2 separate regions of the Homo sapiens genome follow, and region 2 is linked to region 1. The links are contacts of gene promoters, found by promoter capture Hi-C in blood cells and fetal thymus (Javierre and others, 2016). All regions are on one chromosome and are shown on one strand. Each heading gives the region's core, a stretch centred on a gene start or on the middle of the fragment in contact. The rest is flanking DNA. Distances are from core to core; before and after follow the strand shown. Region 1 holds the start of DEFB115 (defensin beta 115). Region 2 has its middle 8.7 kb from the start of LINC00028.

Region 1 (3,500 bases), core at 252-2,751:
GGAGTGGGACTAAGCCTTCAATTATCTTTTTTATCCTCTCTCCATTCATTATTCATCTAACCACAATTTGTTGAGCATCTACTATGTGCCAGGCATTGTTTGTTCTAGGGGTGCTTGCCCCAGGGGTTGTTTAAAGCAAGACCCTGAACAATGGATGACCAATTTACATTTCTGAGCTGCAGGCTGAAGTTGTGTTTGTGTGTGTGTGTGTTGGGGGGTGGGTGCAGGGAGGGTTTAACACTGTGCCCTTCTCTGATTTATTTTCTGTGACTCTAAGTCAACGCAGACTGCAAACCCAGTTTTCTCAGCACATTGGATTCATTTGAGGGATCATTATATCTTAATCTAAACTACAGATTCTTTCCACTTGTCTTTTCCCCAAACTCTTCTTCTGGGAGATAATTCCTAATTCTCTGTCTTTTACCAGAATGTTCAGGCTGAAAAAAATCAGTCACATTGACTCTCACTTTTCTCTTCCAGTATTTCATAAGTCAATATGTAGATTCTTTCTCCAAAATGTCTCTTGCATCTGCAACTCCCTCTATTCTACTTGCCCTCGCTGGAACATAAGGCATGCTCAAGCCAACTCAGGGTTAGCCCAGAATAACCTTCTTTTGCTTCTAGAACAACTGAGTGATTGGCAAAGGCTTTCAGCTTGAATAGCTGCTCCAAGAGAGGATGTGACTTCCAACAGCAACGACCCAAAGGAAATCACAGAATTAAAAATCATCAACTTTAGAGCCCCTGGGAAGCCTAAGGGGAAAACATTTCCATTAGAAAGTTATTCACCACCTGGCCATGATGCCTGTTTATACTGTTAGAGAGCTTTGAGCGTGTTCAACTTGAAAGCCAAAATCTTCTGCTGTAACCCCAGCTCCATACTGTGAGCCTGTTTTTATAAACCTGTAGATATCAAACATCAACTTACAACTTTTTCACCATATATTCCAAGACAAGAGCAAGTTGCCTCTTCTGCCTGCTTTAAAGGAGCACTCAAAGCCCAACAACAGTGGAGAAGTGAAGTAATGAGACTGATTATTAGAAGAGGTAGTATCAACTGAAAGTGGGGTTGAAGTGAGAGACTCACAGGATGAGACTGTTGACATATGGGCCAGAGGCATTCAGGATACTAGAGATGTTGGGGTTGCTTCTGCATATGGAAGGGACTTCATATAAAACACCTTGGCCTCTGCAGATATTCTCCAGGTTCCCTAATGAGAACCACCACCATGGTCAGGCCTGACAGGCTGCCCTTCTTATGGGAGCATATTCATTATAAGCCTTTCATCAGATCTCAGCCATCCCTGTGGGCTCTCCTTGCTTCTACACATGTTCAATTTTCCAGTGATTCTGTGGTTAGGACCCCATCCTTACTCCCTTTTCCCTTCTCTCCATGGTTCTGTTTACCTGGGGCAGTCTGAGCCAGGACCACAAGGACAACTAAGGCCAGGACAGAGAGTTTAATGTCTCCTGAGAGGGGTGAGAAATGATCTGGCAGCATTCTGAGTGTGCTGGGGAAGCTGGGTGTGCACTCAGCATTTTATTGACCTAGGCAAGGCTGACTCACAGACAAAAAATTAGAGAAGGGCAGAATGTTACACCACCCAGAACATCAGCCTGCCACTCAGCAGTATAAACTGATTATCCGGTGTTCAGGGTCCTGCTCTAGATATCCTTGGGGATGGTGAAAGGCACGAGCAGAGGAGGTACAAGTCCTCTCCAAGGCTGTTGCACTGGCCAGAGAACAGATCCCTTCTCCAAGAAGCCTTTCCTGTCCCTCTCCTTCAGAATTTATCCCCCTCCCCTACATTCTCACAGCTGCTGTTTTCTTTTTCTCTGTGTGTTTATCATGACACACTGGAACTAAGTGTTTTTCTAGTTCCTCCTCCCATTCAGAATGATACCCTAAGGGAAACTTTTAATAGACAGTGAGACCCCTGAGGTTAGGAACAGGCTGTCATTTTGGTACACCCAGAGCATACAGTGAACATGTGTTGAAAAGCACTGAGTGAGTGAACGCACATGTGGCATATAATTGTATCCCAGTAGCTCTTAGAATTGGCATTTCCCAGCTAAGAAAATGCAGGCTGAGAGTGGAAAAGAATTGTCTAGGGTCCTACCATGAGCAAGAAAGAAACGGACTGGGGTGGAAGCCCTCATAACCCAACTCGTTGTCCAGCTCTTAACTCTGAATTTGTATCCTATTTTCCTGCTCCAAATCCTTCATATCAACCATTTCTGGGTCTTTCTTGGACTCCAGCCTCAAACAACAAAGCAAAAAATATTTCATGCTGTTTTTCCAACAAAAAGAAGAGGGCACTGCCCAGGCTCCATTAGGAGGGCTGCCTGTGGGCCCACTGGATCTTCCTTTTTGGGTTCCTTGTCCTTTTCCGCCTTTGGGTGAGTCCAGTGTGCATCGGTTTTACTCTCCTCTTTCTACATGCAGGCAGCGGACCTGATGGGGTTCAGGAAATTTGTTTTGCTTTTAGGATTTGGACAGAACTTTCTTCAGGAAAGCAATGAACATCAATGTCATCCACTGAACTTTCACTGTCAGGCAGCAACTATGCTAAGCACTTTATATATATGACCCCCTGGAATCCTCACAGGAGCCCTGTTAGGCAGGTGTGATGTGCTCAGGGTTACACAGTGACTATGAGTGAGGTCTGGATTCAGATCTGGGTTACCTGTCCCCAGATAACATGTTCTTTCTGTCATCCCAGAGGATTATGCCTGAGCAATGATGGAAGGAGAGGTCTGTTTAACTTGAAAAGCAGTAAACAGCTGGAGAGAGTCATAATTGCTGTCTTCAAGTATCTGAAAGGCATGTTCTCTGTAGGCCCACAGGGCAGAACTAATAGGCCTGAGTGGAAACTGCAAGGGCACAAGTTTTGAAACTCATCAGAAAGACCTCTGAAGATGGGAACCATCTGGAAAATGGTTAGACTGCCTGGAGGAGCTAGCTGGTGGCTCCTGCTGTTTTAAAGCTGCAAACTGAGACGACATGACCACTCCCCTCAGATTCTGCAGGGAGGATGGCTGAATTGGCTGCATGTGGGTCTGTGCACTGGCACAATTCTAGGCACTGAGCTTAAGAGAAGAAAGCAAAGTCCGGCCATTCTAATTAGGGAGAGGGACAACATATAGTGTCAGTTGGTGATAAGTGCTATAAAGAAAAATAGGGAAAGGAGAATAGAGAATAATATACTTGTGTGTGTGTGTATGATAATATGTGTGTGCGGGTGTGCGTGTGAAAGGCACACAGGATTGAGTGTAGAGTAAGAGGAATAGAGAATATTGATATACATCTGTGGGTGTGTGTGTGTGTGTAAGGCACATAGGATTGAGTGCAGTATAAGGGGAATAGAGAATAATATGATATACGTGTATGTGTGGGTGTGTGTGTGTAAGGCACATAGGATTGAGTGCAGTATAAGGGGAATAGAGAATAATATGATATACGTGTATGTGTGAGTGTGTGTGTGACACACAGGTTTGAG
Region 2 (3,500 bases), core at 298-2,797, 240 kb before region 1:
CTTGCCCAAGGTCACAGAGCTGGCAAATGGCTGAGCCAGAGGGATTCAAATTCAGACCTGACTGATGCCAGATTTCCTGTTCTGGAATCAGGACTCTAGGCTGATACCAAGAGTATCAGTAACTGGATACCGAGGCTCTGGTAACTGGAATAAAGCACCCTCCTCTACCCCAGGCAGAGAATAAAGAATGAAATAGTCTAGGCTCAGAATTTAATGCAGCCCTTAAAAGCTGTAATTTCAAAGCTTCACTGTGGTTTTGGGCAGCTAAAGGGCACAGTCATTGAGCAGAATACAGCTCAACTTTGTTATAATTAGGGAAAAGCAAAATAGGCAATGAGACACCTTCCTTCCTACTTTCTCTCATCTTGTCCCCAATAAAAGGTCAAATGAGAAGAGACTGGTAATATCTAATGTGGGTCACAAAGTAGGGAATTTGGCACAATTCATCTGAATATAAACAAAACAGCCCCTTTGGAGGGCAATTTGGCAGGGTGTGTCAAAAGGTAAAACGTATGTGCCCTTTGACTAGTAAATTTGAATTTGGTAATCTCTTCTATACATGTAAAAATATTGAATGTCACACTGTTGTGAAGGGCAAAACATTTGCACTAACCTAAATGCCCCTCAATGGGTAAAATATGTTATGGTACATCCATACTGTAGAAAAGTAGTACAGCCATGAAAAAGAAAAAGGTAAAGGAAAAACTGACAGACTGGAAGGAGAAACAGTCACATACAACACTCCTTTCTCAGTAATTGATAAAACAAGTAGGCATAGAATCACTAAGCATAGAGAAGACTTGAACAGCATTATCAACCTCTTTGACCTAACTGGCATTTAGAACATTATGCCCAACAATGGCAGAATACATAGTATTTTCAGGTGCACATGAAACATGCATCGAGATGGGCCATATGTTGAATTATTAAGTCTCAAATTTGCAGTGGAAATAAACAAACAAATGGAAAACCCCCAAATATTTTGAAATTAACATACTTTGGAATAACCTATGGGAATCAGAACAAATCACAGGGGAGATTAGAAAATATTTTGAACTGAATGATAATGAAAAGCACAACATACCAAAATTTGTGGGATGCATCTAGAACAGTGTTGGAAGGCAATTTATAGCTTTCAATGCTAAATTGGAAAAGAAGAAAGGCCTCAAATAAATGATTGAGGTTTCTATCTGAAGAAGATAGAAAAATAAGAACAATATAACCCCCCAAATAACAAGGGAAATGTATAAGAATAAAGCATGGATAGAAAGCCAGTACACATTGAGTGAAAAAAGCATATTAACCGATACGTACGGCATTGTAGCAGAGATTACTGGTTGACCCTTGATTGCTGGTTATCTCTCAATGTCTTTCCTTTTTTTTTTTTTTCTGACTTGTCCCCCAATATCTATTTCCTCCTTCCATAAACACAGAATCCCTGATTTTGAGCTGGTATGTGACTATTTAGAATACAATACATTTCCTGGCTGGGAGCAGTGGCTCACACCTATAATCCCAGCACTTTGGGAGGCTGAGGCGGGTGGATCATTGAGGCCACGAGTGTGAGACTAGCCTGACCAACATGGTGAAACCCCATCTCTACTAAAAATACAAAAATTAGTCGGGCGTGGTGGTGTCTGCCTGTAGTCCCAGCTACTCGGGAGGCTGAGGCAGGAGAATCACTTGAACCTGGGAGGCAGAGGTGGCAGTGAGCAGAGATGGTGCCACTGCACTCCAGCCTGGGTGACAGAGTGAAACTCCATCTCAAAAAAACAAAACCAGCCAACCAACCAACCAAACAAATACAAAAACAAAAAACATCACAAAATCATTTCCTAAATTTCCATGCAATTAAGTGAGGCCATGTGACTATGCTGTGGCCAACGTGATGTAATCAGAGGTGTGTGTCTTCTGAAAGGCTGTGCCTTTTTTGACTCCTTACCGCTTCCTGCTGGCTGGAATGTGAATATGATGGCTGCTGCTTGAGCAGCATATTGTACTGAAGATGAGGGAACCAGAAGATAGAAGCAAGCACAGTTCCTGCCTTGTGGAATGCCATGCCACCCTTGGACAGCCTGCTTGTGGACTTCATTTATATAAGAGAGAAGTGCCCTTCTATCTGTTTCTATCACGGCTATTTTGGATTTGCAGTGGAATTCGGTCTTAATGCATATGGCTATAATCCCACTTACGTGAAAAAAGGAAACAAACCCATACATGCATATCAGATGGATGATTTAGACTTTGGCACAGAAATCCCCGTAATTTTCTTTTTTTTTGAGCCAGAGTCTCACTCTATTGCCCAGGTTGGAGTGCAGTGGTGTGATCTTGGCTCACTGCAACCTCTGCCTCCTGGGTTCAAGCAATTCTCCCGTCTCAGCCTCCCAAGTAGCTGGGACTACAGGTGCGCACCACCACGCCTGGCTAATTTTTGTATTTTTAGTTGAGACGGGGTTTCGCCATGTTGGTCAGGCTGGTCTCAAACTCCTGACCTCAGGTGATCCACCCACCTCGGCCTCCCAAAATGCTGGGATTACAGGCGTGAGCCACTGTGCCTGGCCCAGAAATCCTTCAAGAAAATTTGCATAACAGTAAGTCTAGAAATGGGGAAGCGCCAAGGTTGGTGTTCAGAGGCTTGACTTCATCAGCAAGGGTTCAGGTACTCCCCATCTTTCTGCCTTGTCATCCTCTGACTAGATCCCATCATAATTGCAAGATGGTGTCTACAGTTCCAGGTATTACATTCCTACACTCCAGGGACCTGTCAAAAAGGGACTGGTCTCTTCCTGCTGCAGCTCTTTTATTTATTTATTTATTTATTAAGCTCTTTTCTAAGAGCAAAGAAGCTTTTCCTAGAAACCTCCAGTTAACTTTTCATCACACTTCATTGGCCATAGCTGGACTGTAGGTCCCCCTTTAATCTCTGGCGTAAAGCAATCAGGATTTATTCTTGATTCCATAGATAAGAGGAGAACAACAGAGCAAAATTGCAATTCTGATAGGGTGGAAGAAAGAAAAGTGGCCAATTATTTTCTACAATGTATATGTAAGTGGAATGAAAAATATCCAGGATATATCCCAAACTGTTAATGGTGAGTACCTCCAGGGAGCGCAGTGGGACTGGGAAGAGGATGGAAGGAGTTCTCTGGCAAATACCGAAGTTGCCTATCTGACATCCTTCACCCACTTCTCCCTCGTTCATAGAAGCCGTCTTGTTTGGGGTAGCAAGAGGCAAAGGGAAATTTCTGGTAGAACAATTTCCTGCTTGATAAAAATAAAACCTATTCTGAACTTTTCCCTTTTATTTTATTTTATTTTTTTTTAGAGACAGGGTCTTCCTCTGTCGCCCAGGCTGGAGTGCAGTGGTGCGATCACGGCTCACTGTAACCTTGACCTCGAGGGCTCAGGGGATCCTCCCACCTCAGCCTCCCAAGTAGCTGGGACTACAGGTGTGGCCACTACATCTGGCTAATTCTTGTAATTTTTGTAGAGATGGGGTT

What was found. Contacts are between HindIII fragments. The CHiCAGO score rates a contact against its expected background, and 5 or more counts as called.
Region 2: a fragment that was not itself captured here is called in contact with the fragment with the promoter of DEFB115 in region 1 in 1 of 17 cell types (erythroblasts); the score reaches 5.2 in erythroblasts.

Annotation. Positions count from the first base shown.
Region 1 is chr20:31,255,665-31,259,164 of GRCh38, reverse strand. It overlaps DEFB115 (defensin beta 115), which reads right to left and starts at 1,501. Exons shown (of 2, transcript NM_001037730.1): 1 at 1,408-1,501. The coding sequence starts at 1,501. The HindIII fragment of the contact is 8,626 bases long and covers 1-3,500 here.
Region 2 is chr20:31,492,759-31,496,258 of GRCh38, reverse strand. No RefSeq gene overlaps it. Among named protein-coding and RNA genes, the nearest start is that of LINC00028, 8.7 kb to the right of the region's middle. The HindIII fragment of the contact is 2,603 bases long and covers 246-2,848 here.